Regions from separate parts of the Homo sapiens genome. Here regions 2, 3 and 4 are each linked to region 1. Evidence: promoter capture Hi-C in 16 types of primary human blood cells and fetal thymus (Javierre and others, 2016). All regions are on one chromosome and are shown on one strand. Each heading gives the region's core, a stretch centred on a gene start or on the middle of the fragment in contact. The rest is flanking DNA. Distances are from core to core; before and after follow the strand shown. Region 1 holds the start of CFAP206 (cilia and flagella associated protein 206). Region 2 holds the start of PM20D2 (peptidase M20 domain containing 2). Region 3 holds the start of LOC105377885 (a long non-coding RNA gene). Region 4 overlaps PNRC1 (proline rich nuclear receptor coactivator 1).

What was found. Contacts are between HindIII fragments. The CHiCAGO score rates a contact against its expected background, and 5 or more counts as called.
Region 2: the fragment with the promoter of PM20D2 here is called in contact with the fragment with the promoter of CFAP206 in region 1 in 3 of 17 cell types (total CD8 T cells, non-activated CD4 T cells and naive CD8 T cells); the score reaches 9.2 in total CD8 T cells.
Region 3: a contact is called between a fragment that was not itself captured here and the fragment with the promoter of CFAP206 in region 1, in 1 of 17 cell types (M1 macrophages). The highest score is 5.3, in M1 macrophages.
Region 4: a fragment that was not itself captured here is called in contact with the fragment with the promoter of CFAP206 in region 1 in 1 of 17 cell types (non-activated CD4 T cells); the score reaches 5.3 in non-activated CD4 T cells.

Annotation. Positions count from the first base shown.
Region 1 is chr6:87,405,726-87,409,492 of GRCh38, forward strand. CFAP206 (cilia and flagella associated protein 206) reads left to right here and starts at 2,247. Exons shown (of 13, transcript NM_001031743.3): 1 at 2,247-2,364. The HindIII fragment of the contact is 4,290 bases long and covers 1,505-3,767 here.
Region 2 is chr6:89,143,883-89,147,686 of GRCh38, forward strand. PM20D2 (peptidase M20 domain containing 2) reads left to right here and starts at 2,173. Exons shown (of 7, transcript NM_001010853.3): 1 at 2,173-2,727. The coding sequence starts at 2,263. LOC101929004 (a long non-coding RNA gene) reads right to left here and starts at 2,984. Exons shown (of 4, transcript XR_942766.4): 1 at 1,811-2,984. RefSeq lists a silencer at 1,990-2,919. The HindIII fragment of the contact is 3,355 bases long and covers 1,232-3,804 here.
Region 3 is chr6:88,442,106-88,446,049 of GRCh38, forward strand. It overlaps LOC105377885 (a long non-coding RNA gene), which reads right to left and starts at 814. Exons shown (of 6, transcript XR_007059669.1): 1 at 737-814; 2 at 1-221. The HindIII fragment of the contact is 1,010 bases long and covers 1,111-2,120 here.
Region 4 is chr6:89,083,100-89,087,022 of GRCh38, forward strand. PNRC1 (proline rich nuclear receptor coactivator 1) reads left to right here. Exons shown (of 2, transcript NM_006813.3): 2 at 654-2,061. The coding sequence ends at 1,097. Among named protein-coding and RNA genes, the nearest start is that of PNRC1, 4.3 kb to the left of the region's middle. RefSeq lists enhancers at 1,408-1,935, 1,936-2,462. The HindIII fragment of the contact is 4,237 bases long and covers 1-3,649 here.

The sequences.
Region 1 (3,767 bases), core at 997-3,496:
TAAAAGATCGGTTCAGGCAATTCTGTGCCATATGCATGTGATTCTGGGACCAAAGAGCTTGCTTTGTATGTACTTCTCATGGCAATGATACAGGCACAAGAGAGAAAGCAGAAATATGGGGTCTCTTTAAGATCTTGGATCTGATTTGGCACACCGTTGCTTCACCACAACCTATTGGCCAAAGCAAGTCACATGGCTAAATTCAAAATCAAGGATTGGGGAAGTATACTCCACCAAAGTCCATGGCAAAGGTGTGGATGCTAAGAGGCATGAAGGATTAGGGAGAATAATTCAATGTAGCACAAAACGCTAAATAATACTTCCAAAGTCATACCCATTGTAGCAGTCAGGGATTCAGTTTGGCTGAATGTAGCAAAAAACCCAAATAATAGTAGCTTAATAAAATAGGAGTTTATCTTCTCTCATGCAAAGTCTGGAGATAGCCAGTCAAGAAGCTGATAGGGCTGTTCCATGACGTTACCAGGAACTCAGGTTCCTTTTTCATTTTTGTTCCACCATCCTTAAGATGTGACCCTCATGTTTATGTTCACAGCAAGGCTGCTGGAGCTTCAGCCAGCATATTCTCATTTCAAGTAGAAAGAAAAGGAAAGGCAATAGACATAAAATGGAAGTGCTTTCCCTGACACCTCATCCAGTGATTACACTTACATCTCATTGGCTAGACCATGTCACAGGCCACTCTCACTGAGAAAGAGGTTGAGAGATTTTTTTTTTTAAAAGAGAACACTGTCATTCCCAACACAGGGTTAAATTAGTAACAGAAAGAGAAGAAAACATTGACATTAAGTAGGAATTAACAGTATCAAACATACTTCAGGGAGTATTTGTGCCAGGATTTGCCCATTAGTTTAAAACTATACTTAATATGATGGTATTATTCTTACCATCTTAAAAGATATTTAATATTCTAATATATAATATATGCTCATGGAAGACATTTTGGTAGCTATCTTAAAGTATAAAGAAGACAAATCAGCCATAAGCCATTACAAAGTTACAACCACTGTTAAAATTTTGCTATCTCACCGTCCTTTGGTTGCTTTACCTTGTATACTTACAGTATATTTGTATATCTAAATTGGGTTCATTCTCTACAAATAGCCAGTCTCATCTCCCTTGTATTTTTAAATTTTGTTTTATAGATCATAAGACAATATATACTCATTATGGAAAAATCTAGAAAAAACAGAAAAGTATAAAGAAATAAAAGTAATTTACCTATAATTCCATCCTTAGATCTAATTGCTTGCTGTGATTTTGAAAAACTGACCTACACTTTTTGTGCATTATATGTATGTCAATATAGTTTAAGTCATATTATATAAAAATTTCGCATTTGGCTTTTAACAAATATAAGACAAACACAAGGTTTTTGTTAACATAATTTTAAATACCTGCCTGATATTTTACTTAAATAACGTGTTTAGATTTCTAAGGCTGTGCTATTATAAATCTTGTTACTCTGAACATCTATTTTTACACAAGCTTCTTCCACATTCCGGGAACATTTTCTAGAAGGCGGAAATAAAATTGTGTTATATTATGATGTATATTCTTGAGTTTTTGTGTTGATTCATTTCCTAGTAATCAGGGAATGTCCTTAAGCAAAGCATATTCTGCATATTTGTTTGCAGTTTGAGAAAAATTACTGTTTAAAAATAAAACCTTGTTGTTTGATGCTCTCCTTCTAATGAGTATTTAATCCTTTTTCACACTTTCACGTCTGAAGGTGGGCCTAACGATATTATCGTTAAGGGATAAAACCTCATTATTTTGACTCGGACACTAATGTGTTCTTATCATGTGCTTCTTGAATGAGCAGTTTTCTCTTCGGGCATCTTGGAGCGTTCTGTTACAGACTTCCTTTGAACAACGGGACATGAAATAAAACCTCGATACTTTTTACTTTTGTTTTTTAAAACTAGATACTTTTACAAGAACTCTATTTGCCCAGGATACAGCCCTTCCGTTTTCCCAGCCTCTCCAACTGGCTCCTCCCTCTCCCCCACCCCGCTTTCAAAGCCGCCTCATCATTCCCACGCTAGCAAGTTAATATCCTTATTTACGAGAACTTGTGTTTCACAGTCTTAACCACGGAGGTTAAGATGTCTCTGCCTGAAATTCCTTTGTTTTTAAAGTTTTTCCAGCCCATCTTTTGGGGGAAAGACCCTCAAAGTGGGACCCCGCCCCACCCCCACCTGGCCCCGCCCCCTCTGGTCCGGAGCCTTCCATCTCCATGGTTACGCGGCGGTGGCTGCGAGCGCCCAACTGCTCCGACCGTCGCGGTGAGGGCCCCAGGACAGAAGCAGACAGACACGGCTCCTGCTGTCGATTCCGATCCAGGTCAGCCTACTCGGGGCTCCGCGCCCTTGACCCGGAGGCGTACCCCGCCAGGCGGCGAGCTTGGGGCGGCTGGCGGAGCTCGGGCGGCTGGAGGACCGCGTCCTGCCTCGTCGAGACTTAGCTCTCAGTCTCGATCCTTTAGGCTGCGCCGCCGCAGAGCTGGAACAGCGGTCCATTCCTGCCGGAGGCGCCACCCCAGGGCTGCAGGGCTGCCCTCTAGCCTTTGCGCGGGTGCCTGAGGCCTCCCGCTTCTGTTTCGCTCCACTGGCTACCCCAGAAGCCGGACCTCGGGAGACTTAGTAATTGGAGGGTGGGTGCAGGGAAGGTGCTGAGCCGCGTCCCTAGCGACCCGGCAGCGGCGCGCATGCGCACACAGATCCGGAGCGCGCACACAGATCCGGAGCGCGCACACAGATCCGGAGCGCGCACACAGATCCGGAGCGCGCACACAGATCCGGAGCGCGCACACAGATCCGGAGCGCGCACACAGATCCGGAGCGCGCACACAGATCCGGAGCGCGACGGACTCTCCCACTGACTGGCACTTGCGCATGCGCTGCCTGTGATCTTGGAGTACTGATTATAAGCTGTTTTAAGCGATTCCCTTAAGCCGCGCACTGTTGTAACCACTAAAAACAGGACTAATTTAGTCCTCACACCTCTGGAAAGAAGTGAAGCAAGTGCCCAAGGTCTCACAGCTGGACAGTGGTCGGGTCACCATGGAATCCAGGCAATCTGGTTTCACTGGACAAAATGCCTAGTGCTTCGTACTCATCCATTGGAAAGCTAATAATGCTGAGGAGTTGGCTTTATCTACCTGATATTGCCTTTGTTATACTCTACATGCCAACTTCCATTGTGCTTAGTTACTGATATTCAGGAAAATCAGAAAACTCGATCAAAACCTACCACTTTTTCCTTATAGTAAATGCTTTTTTTTATCGAGAGTCTGAACTCTATTTTAGATGTGCGGAAAAGATCATTTTAATGATCTGAGCAAGAATTGTTTTCCAAGATTCTAGTACAGTTCTGAAGGGTCATTTAATGAATGTGGTGGAATAAGCATTTCTCCTTTTAAAGCTGTACTCTTGGGTTTCTCATTAATTTTACCTCCCTCCCCTACAAATACTGCTTAGCCTTTTTTTTTTTTTCCTGAGACACAGTTTCGCTCTTGTTGCCCAGGCTGGAGTGCAATGGCACCGCAACCTCCGCCTCCCGGGTTCAAACGATTCTCCTGCCTCAGCCTCCCAAGTAGCTGGGATTACAGGCGTGTGCCACCACTCCCGGCTAATTTTGTATTTTTAGTAGAGACGGGGTTTCTCTGAGTTGGTCAGGCTGGTCTCGAACTCCCGACCTCAGGTGATCTGCCTGCCTTGGCCTCCCAAAGTGCTGGGATTACAGGC
Region 2 (3,804 bases), core at 923-3,422, 1.7 Mb after region 1:
TTAATTGCTGCCATTATTCAGTTAGTTTATTAGATTCAAGAAGAATAATCAGCCAACAAATATTTATTAACACAGAGGAAATGCTGACCATAAGATGTTAGGTGCTGGGGAATGCAGTGGGAAAACAAAAGAGTTTAAAGCCTGGAGGGGAAGATAAACGGTCAGCAAGTTATCACAGTTTATCAAATAAATGAATTCAAGGGTGCAAAATACCATGAGCAAGAAATACAAGGTGTCAACAGTAGAAACTGAATACATACGTGCCTGTGGGCATGTATACCCACCCACCCACCCACATATATACACAAGGAACAGAGCTTGAAATGAATCTGTCTTTCCTCTACCTCAAGTGGCAGCTTTGTTAATTCCTGCAAAGCAATATAAATAGCAGCTTCTATATGAAATTATATGCATCCCTTTTCTGTTGCTGTTTATTGATGCCTGAGGAGGGCAAACATGGGTTCTACTGATGTCAGCAGGCAGAGTTGCTGCAGTAAAATTTATTCAAAATGAGTGTTGTGGGTTCTGATTTGAATAGATAAACTGGAGATGCATTTATGAATTTGCATGTCTGTTTACACAAGCAATAGACCATGGTGGCTGAAAGTCAGCCACTGGAGGCTGACTCTGGCTTCTGTTCTACAGTGGGTCCACTACTTACTAGCTCTATAATCTTGGACATACATCTGTAAAATGAAGATAAATAACCACATTAACCACCTCATAGTTTGCTGTGAGGATTAAATGAGTTAACAAATGCTAAGCCCTTGGAACAGTGCCTAGCACAGAGTAATTGCTCTACAAATGTCACCTATTGCTTTTGCTCTCCAATCCCCCCTTCTCCCCTTTTTTTAGCCAACTAACTGAGCAGGATAATATTGGATCTCGTGGATACAGGGTAATTTTCTTCAGCAGAATACCAGAGAAAGATTTATTATCGCCAAGGGGGCCCAGGAATTTAATAACACATTTGTTGTTTTTAGAGCTGAGTTTTTGTTGGAGTGTTAACTGAGAAAGAAAGTTTTCAGACGTGAATGGAATGTGACATTTACTCTGGTATTATTAGCATATAGAGTAGTAAAAACAGTAGTTGATAGTCTTCGTGCATGTTAGCTTCCCTTAGACTTATTTTCAAAATATTCATTTGGTTTATCACATTAATATATTGTGTCCCATTTAACATAGTTGAGACAAATTAAGGAAAGATGATAGGGTATGAAGAGCTGATAGAAGCTTTTAATATGTGGAAAACCTCAGAATATAAACATCTACAGTGTTATTAATAGGCATACCGTCAACAACAGTTTTTCAGACTTTGTGGTTCACTCTGGAGAAAAACAAGAGCATGACATCTTGAATTTCTTCACTGGGTAATTAAAAAACTCAGTTATAATGTAACACCAGCTGCACATATCATGTTAGTGGAGTTCAGCATCAATTAAAATTATAAACGAAACCTGTCATATGTTCCCTTTCAAAGCTGTTCAAGACAACTGTCCAAATCAACAAAACAGTATGAATATTTACTACCATAAATCTTTTAACTCTTTGGTTTTAACTCATTTCAAATTTTTAGTTCTACTCTATTCAAATAAATTATTATATAATAGCTAATACATACCAAGAGCTTACTGCATAATCTAGCTGCTGTTCCAGACATTAGTAACCAATGAGAAAACTGTAGAGAGTAGCTGCAGCTTTTAGTAATACAATGTCAAGGAGAAGAAAGTGGGGGCAGTACCGAAACTTACGTACAGTACCGTCGTTAGTACAGCATTGACACTGACGGCCTCCTTCAGGAAATACAAACCTTGTGAGGTTTTAATTACTAATGCTACAGAGTGGCGTTTTTCCGAGGACTGTGTTCCACTTGGTCTGTCTCTGATGGCTATTAACTAATAACCGTTCTCATTCTGCTGCTGTGGGAAATAAGCAACAACGGAAAAGTAATCGATAATCTTAGAGCATAACTCAAAGGCCAGAGCAGCCAAGGAGGTGGAAGAGTCCCGAGCCCTGCCTTCTCCACAGCACCCCCAAAACCCCACGGCGGGGCAGAGCGCCTGGTAGGGTACGAGCGGCCGCCAGCGTTTCCCGCGCGGCGCCGGGGGCGGCCCCGGGACTGGGGGTGGTGCCCTGGGAGCTGTGTGGCCGCGTGCGCGCTCCGCCGGGGTCCTGGAGGCCTCTGGGCGCGTGCGCGGGCGGTCGCTACCTGCGGCCGAGCCAGGGAGCGAGAGGGCGCAGAGGGCAGCGGGCTTGGGCAGCATGAGGCCCGGAGGGGAGCGGCCCGTGGAAGGGGGCGCGTGCAATGGCCGCTCCGAGCTGGAGCTACTGAAGCTGCGCTCGGCGGAGTGCATCGACGAGGCGGCCGAGCGGCTGGGGGCCCTGAGCCGCGCGATCTGGAGCCAGCCCGAGCTGGCCTACGAGGAGCACCATGCCCACCGCGTGCTGACGCACTTCTTCGAGCGGGAGCCGCCCGCGGCCTCCTGGGCAGTGCAGCCGCACTACCAGCTGCCCACGGCCTTCCGCGCCGAGTGGGAGCCGCCGGAGGCCCGGGCACCGAGCGCCACGCCACGCCCGCTGCACCTGGGCTTCCTCTGCGAGTACGACGCGCTGCCCGGCATCGGCCACGCCTGCGGCCACAACCTCATCGCTGAGGTCGGGGCGGCGGCCGCGCTGGGCGTGAGGGGGGCCTTAGAGGGCCTCCCCAGGCCGCCTCCGCCCGTGAAGGTGAGGTGGGGCCCGGGTGCGGGACCCTATCCGACTGCCCGGGTCGGGGGCGACCCGGGAAGGGCGGGACTCTCGTGCGTCCCGCGCGCCTCGGTGCCCTCCCGCCCGGGGCAGGTGTGTGTGGGACCGCGCTAAACCTGCGGTCCTCGCCTCGGCGCAGGAGCAGAGCTGAACCCCCAGTCAAAGTCAGTTCGCGTTGCCGACCTGGCGACATCTTGCAGATTATTGTTTCCTCCTCTCTAGTTATAAACAGCTCTGCTGAGTTGTTCCCTTAGGAAAGAACTTACACCCAAGCCTGGTGTTTGTTACGGGTTATTTTTGGTAACTGAGAGAGGCAACAGCAATTTGCTGACAAGGTTGTGCCATCAATCTCAGGAGGAAATAACTTCTTGTAGGTAATCCTACGGCCCCTTTTTATTCGTCTCCAAATAAATCTTTTGTTTGTGGCAGTCCTAGAAAATGTGATTCAAGTCATTGGTATTTGGATAGGAATTTTCAGTCGCTAGAACCACCAGACCCCTAGAAGTATACAAATAAAGGGGAAGTGAATGAGCATTATACATAGATGAGTTCATCCTTAAGTCTTAATTTTTTTGTTTTATGATTTTAAGAAATACCTCGACTCTTTAAACAGGGAAATGTCGTTTATGTTTGTCGTAGGGCAAGTTTAATCCTGTTTTACTCTGCTTTTCCAGATGGTATATTCTACACTATGAGCTAAGATTCAATCGTCATTCAGTTAAGGGGAAAACAAATGTTTTATTTTCATACTCTTTAGTTCATTTCCCCCAGTGTCAGTAACCTTCCTCTTTTATCCTAACACTACATCTTTTGTGGCTTTTTCACTTTAGCTGCCTTCTTTTTTCTGTCTCTGGAGGCTCGTTTTTGCATTTGTTAGGTTTTTGTTTGGGTTGGGGGAAGCATGCTTTGCCATGTCACAAACACTGGAGAGATTTCGCTTCAACCACGTTTTTAAAGGTTCTGAGTAGTCAGCGAGAGACATATCGTATTTAATGAGTTAAGGGTCAAGAATGAAGAGCGGTGGGCAGATCAGTTGAGGTCTGGAGTTCGAGACCC
Region 3 (3,944 bases), core at 366-2,865, 1.0 Mb after region 1:
GGAAGCAGGCAAGAGGTGCTACTTTTTCTATTTCTTGGTCTCTTCTTCAGATTTGGAGATAGCTTTGCTTGAAGGATAGCAAGAGACCTTTTAAAAAGATGAAAGTAGAGTCTCGTGTACTAATGAAAAAATAAGACAAAAATTCAGGATGCCAGACCTAGGGCTGCATTTGCTCTAGTCACTGGAAGAGTATGGATTTAAGACCTCTCGCAACCTGTGATCTGTAGAAGGGTGAACACAGAAAAAAAAAGAGTTATTTTTATTTTCTGCTTTTATTAAAAGTTTATTTTAAAAGTTACAATATTTGTATAATACTATTTAGAAGAAATAAAAAATACTTAGAAACATAAAGAAGTTAAACCACACATAATCTTACCACCCAGACAACAGTTATCAATATTTTGATGTACAAGATGTTTTTTAAAGAAACAGACCAATATACTATATGTTATGTTACTTGCTTTATTTTAAATTAAGGAATTTATATACAAAGGGCATCAATTTTCTACTACTGCATTAAAAAGTACCCCAAATTTTAGCAACTTAAAAAACACAAACATTTTTTAACTCACAAAGTTCATGTGGATCAGGAACCTGAGAGTGGCTCGGTTGAGTGGTTCTGGTGCTGGATCTCCCATGAAGTTGCAGTGAAGAGGTAAGCCAAGCTACAGTCATCTGAAGACCGGACTAGCCATTTCCAAGCTCCCTGCCCTGGTTTTTGGTTTTCCCTACTCACCTGTTGTTGAACTCGGTATTTTAGTTCCTCTGCACACGGTTGCCTTAGTATCTTCAGGACATGGCAGCTGGCTTCCCCAGAGCAAGTGATCCAAAAGAGGAAGAGCATGAAAGCAAGATCAAAACGGAAGCCATGGTGTCTTCCATTACCCAATGTCAGAAGTTACATACACCATTTCTGCTGTATCCTCAGGGTCACCCAGACCAACAATGAATGTGAGAGAGTTTGAAATACCAAGAGGCAGGGATTAATGGTGACCTTCTTAGAAATGTTGCCACAAATAAAATGCACAGATTTTGTGTGTACATTGATGAGTTTTGACAAATGTCATATGCAACCATCACTAATCACAAAGTATTTATGTCTGTCCAAAAAGCTTTCTCATGACCTCTTTCAGTCAATCCCTGCCCACCTCCCCAGCAGCAACCACTGTTTGTGGTTTTTCACCATATAATCATTTTCATTTGTTATTGTACTTCTTATAAATTGAATCAGACAGTATGTACTTTTTTCTGTCTTGCTTTTCTTACTCAGCAGTATCACTAAAGATTCATTCTTGTTGCTAAATGTTGTTCATTCCTTCTTATTGCTGCCTAGTATTCTACTGTATGAATATACCACAAATTGTTAATTAATTTACCTATTTACAGACTTTAGGTTGTCTTCAGAGTTTAGAGCTAATACGAATAAAGCTGTTGTTAACATCTTTGTACAAGTCTTTTTTTTCATGGGTGTATGTCTTCATTTATCTTGGGTAAAAACTAAGGAGTTTAATTGCACATCACAGGCTAGATATATATTTGATCTTATTTTTAAAATTGCCAAATGATTTTCTGAAGTGATAGTATCATTTTACACTTCCACCAGCAATTTATTAGAGTTTCAGTTACTATATGTACTCACCAACATTTAACTTCCCATTTTCAAGTTGCAGCAATCTCGTAAGTATGTAGTAATCTTTCACTGAAGTTTTAAGTTGCATTTCCCCAATGTCTAATGTTATTGAGCACCTTTTTCATGTGTTTATTGGTCATTTACATTATCTTCTTTTGTGAAATATCCACTAGTATTTGGGAAGTATCTTCTTTTGCAAAGTATCTCCTTGTTTATTTTAATTGGGTTATTTGGTTTTTCAATATTGAATTGTTGGCATTGTTTGTTTATTCTGATTACAAGTATTTTGTCAGCTATTTGGGTTGCAAACCTTTGATCCCAGTCTGTGGTGCACCTTTTCATTTCTTTAGTGGTGTGTTTTTATGAGAATAAATTTTGATAATGTCTAATTTACCAATTTTATGTTTTATGGTTAGTGCTTTTGTGACTTAGCTAAGACATTTTTGCCTCTCCCAAAATTGCAAAGATATTATCCTTGTTTTCTTTTAGAAGCTTTATAATTTTTGCTTTTATGTTTAGGTCTATGATCAATTTTGAATTACTTTTTTGGTTTATGGTGTGAGGTAGGGGCTAGGGTACATTTATTTTCTCACATGGATGTCTAGTTTTTCTAGGATTGTTTGTTGAAAGGGTTTTCTTTTCCCTTTCAAATGCTTTGTGCCTTTGTTAAAAATTAACTGACTGTATATATCTGCATCTATTTCTGGTCTCTATTTCATTCCACCAATCTATTTGCCTAAACTTATATCTAAGTCAATAACACACTATCTTGATCAACTATAGCTTTACAATACATCTTGGTGTAACCTGCTTTTGGCACAAAACAAGATGTTATGAGTATCTTCCCAGGCCAAAATTTCTGTGACATCTGCCGTTTTTATGAATGCATAGTACTCTATCATATGCATGAATTATAATTTAATGAACAAATTTCTAATTGTTGGTTTTTTAGCCTTTGTATTTTTAAATATCACTGAAAAATTCTGCAGTGAACATCTTTGGCATTGCCCTTAGTTATATTCTATGAATAAATTCTTAGAAGTGAAATTGCTAAATTAAAGTGTGTGCTGGTTGTTAAAGATTTGGTATATATTGCCAAACTGTACAAAGATTGTGTCAGCTTACCCTGCCACCAGCTGAGAATGAGAGAGCCAATGCTGTGTATTATCATTTAAAATTAAAGCCGCTGTGTGATTTTAAATGATAGATGAAACTAGTATATCATTGCTGATTCAATGTGCATTTATAATTACCCGTAAAAAAAAGAATATTTTACGTGTATTGACCACACAAATACAAATTTTCTGTCTTTTAAGTTGCCTGTTTACATCATTTGGTCATTTTCCAATTGCCTTTACTTCCTTTGTAATGGACTAAGGCCAAAGCTAATTGTAGTCTCAATGTAGAAGTTCTTTCAGGCCCAATTCAGAATAATTAAATATATAATTTTTTTTCTAGAAATAGTATAAGTGAAATAAAAATGCAAAAAATGCTATTGAATATTTCTATTAAAATAAATTTACTCACTATAATTATAATATCACATAGTTGCAATGATTAGCTCATTTTCTTTATCTTCTACATAAAACTCAGGCTCTGCTACTTTAGGGCTTTGGCACCACACTCCATCTGTCCAGATGGCTTCTAACTTCCTAATTTGTCCTTGCCTTGGCCTGAAAACTTGTCATTTCTGTACTCTTGACCTGTTCCTTCTCGATGTGTTTCTTTGCCACTCCCTAGCTGTTTCTTTCAAATTCCCCCTAAAAATTATTTTCACCTATCAAAGTCTTTGACCAATCTAGCCTATTGCCAACCTTTTCTTATTGAAAAATAGAATGGGGGCAAAGACACTACAAAAAAGACTCAAAAATGTTAAAAGGGAAAATTTTGTATCACTTACTGAACTGTTGTGCCTGCTTCCCTTCATCAGCTGAGTGTCATTGTTTAGAACAGGAAATTTCCCTCTGATCTTTGTACCAGGAATAGTTATGCTTTTGAGCAGCTGGTTTGTTTTTACTTATGGATCTCATGAATCATTTAACTGATCCTGTTCTCCTATCTGAGTTAGAAATCTCAGAGTCAGATTTTCAGTCCATCTGTAGCAAGTGGATTGCTTCTCAGGACATACTTTCTGTGCATTAATCCCACTCTTATTTTTCATCATGGCTTTTTCTACTTATTTTTTCTGTGCGTCTCTTATTTTTCTTACTACTTATTGTCCACTCACCTTGACTTTTTTTAACTTACAAAAGTAAAGTCTTATAGTACATATTTTGAAAACTGACATAAAACCCTTTATTTCAGAATAAGATGG
Region 4 (3,923 bases), core at 281-2,780, 1.7 Mb after region 1:
CAGGCTGAAGGGATCCCGCCTCAGCCAGCCTCCCGAGGCGCGTGTTACCACGCCGGGCTGATTTTTATATTTGTAGTAGACATGGGGTTTCGCTATGTTGCCCAGGCTGGTCTCGAACTCCTTGAGCTTGAGCGATCTGCTTGCCTTGACCTCCCAAAGTGCTGGGATTACAGGCGTGAGCCACCATGCCCAATTAAAGTTTTTGTAATTTTCAGCTTTTATTTTAGATCAAGGAGGTACTTGTGCAGGTTTGCTACATGGGTATATTTCGTGATGCTGAGGTTTGGAGTATGAATGATCCCATTCCAGGTAGTGAGCATAGTACCCAGTAGGTCCCCATCTCTCTCTCAACCCCCCTTCTAGTAGTGCCTAGTGTCTGTTGTTGTTCCCCACTATATCCATGTTGTACCCAGTGTTTAGCTCCCAAATTCACTTGTAAGTGAGAACTTGCGATATTTGGTTTTCTGTTTCTGCATTAATTCGTCTAGGGTAATGGCCCCCAGCTACATACGTGTTGTCACAAAGAACATAATTTTGTTCTTTTCTATGGCTGTGGGCAAACTTAAACACAACAAAACTAGATATGTGATATGAGGTTCATAACTGATTTTTATCTAGAAACTATATTTACTTTTGTGTTCTTGTCTTTGTAGGTTTTAAAATCAAAGATGGGAAAATCGGAGAAAATTGCCCTTCCCCATGGCCAGCTTGTTCATGGTATACACTTGTATGAGCAACCAAAGATAAACAGACAGAAAAGCAAATATAACTTGCCACTAACCAAGATCACCTCTGCAAAAAGAAATGAAAACAACTTTTGGCAGGATTCTGTTTCATCTGACAGAATTCAGAAGCAGGAAAAAAAGCCTTTTAAAAATACCGAGAACATTAAAAATTCGCATTTGAAGAAATCAGCATTTCTAACTGAAGTGAGCCAAAAGGAAAATTATGCTGGGGCAAAGTTTAGTGATCCACCTTCTCCTAGTGTTCTTCCAAAGCCTCCTAGTCACTGGATGGGAAGCACTGTTGAAAATTCCAACCAAAACAGGGAGCTGATGGCAGTACACTTAAAAACGCTCCTCAAAGTTCAAACTTAGATTTCAGATTTCAGTATGTGTGTAAAACATAATTTTTCCCATATCCCTGGACTCTTGAGAAAATTGGTACAGAAATGGAAATTTGCCTTGTTGCAACATACAATTGCAAAAGATGAGTTTAAAAAATTACATACAAACAGCTTGTATTATATTTTATATTTTGTAAATACTGTATACCATGTATTATGTGTATATTGTTCATACTTGAGAGGTATATTATAGTTTTGTTATGAAAGTATGTATTTTGCCCTGCCCACATTGCAGGTGTTTTGTATATATACAATGGATAAATTTTAAGTGTGTGCTAAGGCACATGGAAGACCGATTTTATTTGCACAAGGTACTGAGATTTTTTTCAAGAAACAGCTGTCAAATCTCAAGGTGAAGATCTAAATGTGAACAGTTTACTAATGCACTACTGAAGTTTAAATCTGTGGCACAATCAATGTAAGCATGGGGTTTGTTTCTCTAAATTGATTTGTAATCTGAAATTACTGAACAACTCCTATTCCCATTTTTGCTAAACTCAATTTCTGGTTTTGGTATATATCCATTCCAGCTTAATGCCTCTAATTTTAATGCCAACAAAATTGGTTGTAATCAAATTTTAAAATAATAATAATTTGGCCCCCCCTTTTAAAATAGTCTTGACTCTTTGTGTGTGACTGTTTCTCATGTTTGAATGTGTGACTAGGAGATGATTTTGTGTGGTTGGATTTTTTTGACTTCTACTTTACTGGCTGAGTGTGAGCCGCCATGCCTGGCCATAATCTACATTTTCTTACCAGGAGCAGCATTGAGGTTTTTGAGCATAGTACTTGACTACTCTAGAGGCTGAGACGGGAGCATCTCTTGAGCCTGAGAAGTGGAGATTGCAATTGAGCTAGGATCAGGCCACTGCACTCCAGCCTGGGTAACAGACGCTGTCTCAAAAAAAAGGCCAAGAGAAAGTAAGGGAGACAGATTTTGAGTGGGAATGTTAAGCAATCAGGTCAAGTAAAGAAGATCGAATATACAAAGGAACTTCTGTTTGATGTTTTGTGTGAGTCACCATTCCTTCCTTACAAATGCAGATACACCTTCCTCACAAATGGAAGGGAAGCTCATTTAGAAGTTTAGTTTGAAGATGCCCCCAATTTTTAGTCACCAATTTTAGCTTTTGTTAGTAATGTGTTGTAAATATTAATACTAATGACTGACTACAGTGAGTTCTGACATCTCTCCCAAATCAGTTTGTGATTCTAGAAAGGGACACATTAACAGGTTTTAACAACACATTTTTGCACATGGTTATAAAAATTCCTACACAATGTAATATAAGTCCTACCGCCTCAACCACCCTTCTTTCCTTGTCCAACATTTCTCAGCTCTTGTCATTTTGAGCAGTATGTCTGCAGTTTAATGTGTGAGGGCTTATGTGTAACGTATGTTCAGGAAATAGAAGGATAAATGGCAGAGCTGAAAGTTTAGGTGGGATGGGGAGAAAAGACAAATATAACTAAAATACAAGCTATATTCCCCACTCTACAACAACAAATGCCTGAAGAGAGAAAAAGGTAAAGTCTCTTAGGGTGAAGGGACTAATTTTGGTGAGAAAATTTTCTCTTTGGGAATCTGACACCTTAGAAAGTAACAGTGAGTTGAGCTGGGCATGGTGGCTCACGCCTGTAATCCCAGCACCTACGGAGGCTGAGGCGGATGGATCACGAGGTCAGGAGTTCAAGACTATCCTGGCCAAGATGGTAAAACCTTGTCTCTACTAAAAATAGAAAAAAATTAGTCGGGCTTGGTGGCAGGCACCTGTAATCCCAGCTACTCAGGAGGCTGAGGCAGAAAATTGCTTGAACTCGGGAGGCGGAGGTTACAGTAAGTCGAGATCGCGCCACTGCATTCCAGCCTGGGTGACAGAGCAGGACTCCATCTCAAAAAAATGAAAAAAAAAATTGAGTTGAGCCTTAAAAGATAAGTATTTGACACACAAAAAAGGAAAAAAATTGTGAGGTAAAAGTTTGAGCAGATGGTGGTGTAAAAAGATGCACAACGCTGAATCCCAGCACTTTGGGAGGCTGAGGCTGGTGGATCACCTGAGGTCAGGAGTTCGAAACCAGCCTGCCCAACATGGCGAAACCCTGTCTCTACTAAAAATACAAAAAATTAGCTGGGTGTGATGGTGGGTGCCTGTAATTCCAGCTACTTGGGAGGCTGAGGCAGGTGAATCGCTTGAACCCAGGAAGCGGAGGTTGCATTGAGCCAAGATTGTACCACTGCACTCCAGCCTGAGCGATGAGTGATACTGCATGTCAAAAAAAAAAAAAAAAAAAAAAAAAAAAAAAAATGTACAATGTCCAGTAGCTTAAGAGAAATGCAAGAAAGGAAGGGAAGTTTTTAAAAGGTATATTGGGGTAAGAACACGAAGGGCCTTCAGTGTCACGCGGAAGAGCTTCAACTTTATTTTGTAAGCATGGCAGTTCTCAAAGGTTTATGAGTAAGGGAATGGAATTCTTGCTTCAAAAAGAAAACGTAGAAATATGGAGGACAGCTTGATAAGGGAAAGCTTGAAACAGATTACTTAGGTGAGGATATTTCAGTAGCTCAAAAGAGAAAAGGGCCTAGAGGGCATTATCAGAGGTATGGGCTTATTTGGGGGAATGTTTTAGAGCTAGAATTGAGGATTGAGCATCTGAATAGAGGGTAAGGAAAAGACTTGAAATTGAGCAACTTGAAGGATAAATCTACCAATTAGGGGATTGCAGGGGGATCAGAATTATAAAGGAAGGTCATTTTGATTTGGCATGTTGAACTTTGGGGTGCCTCTAGGACATCCAT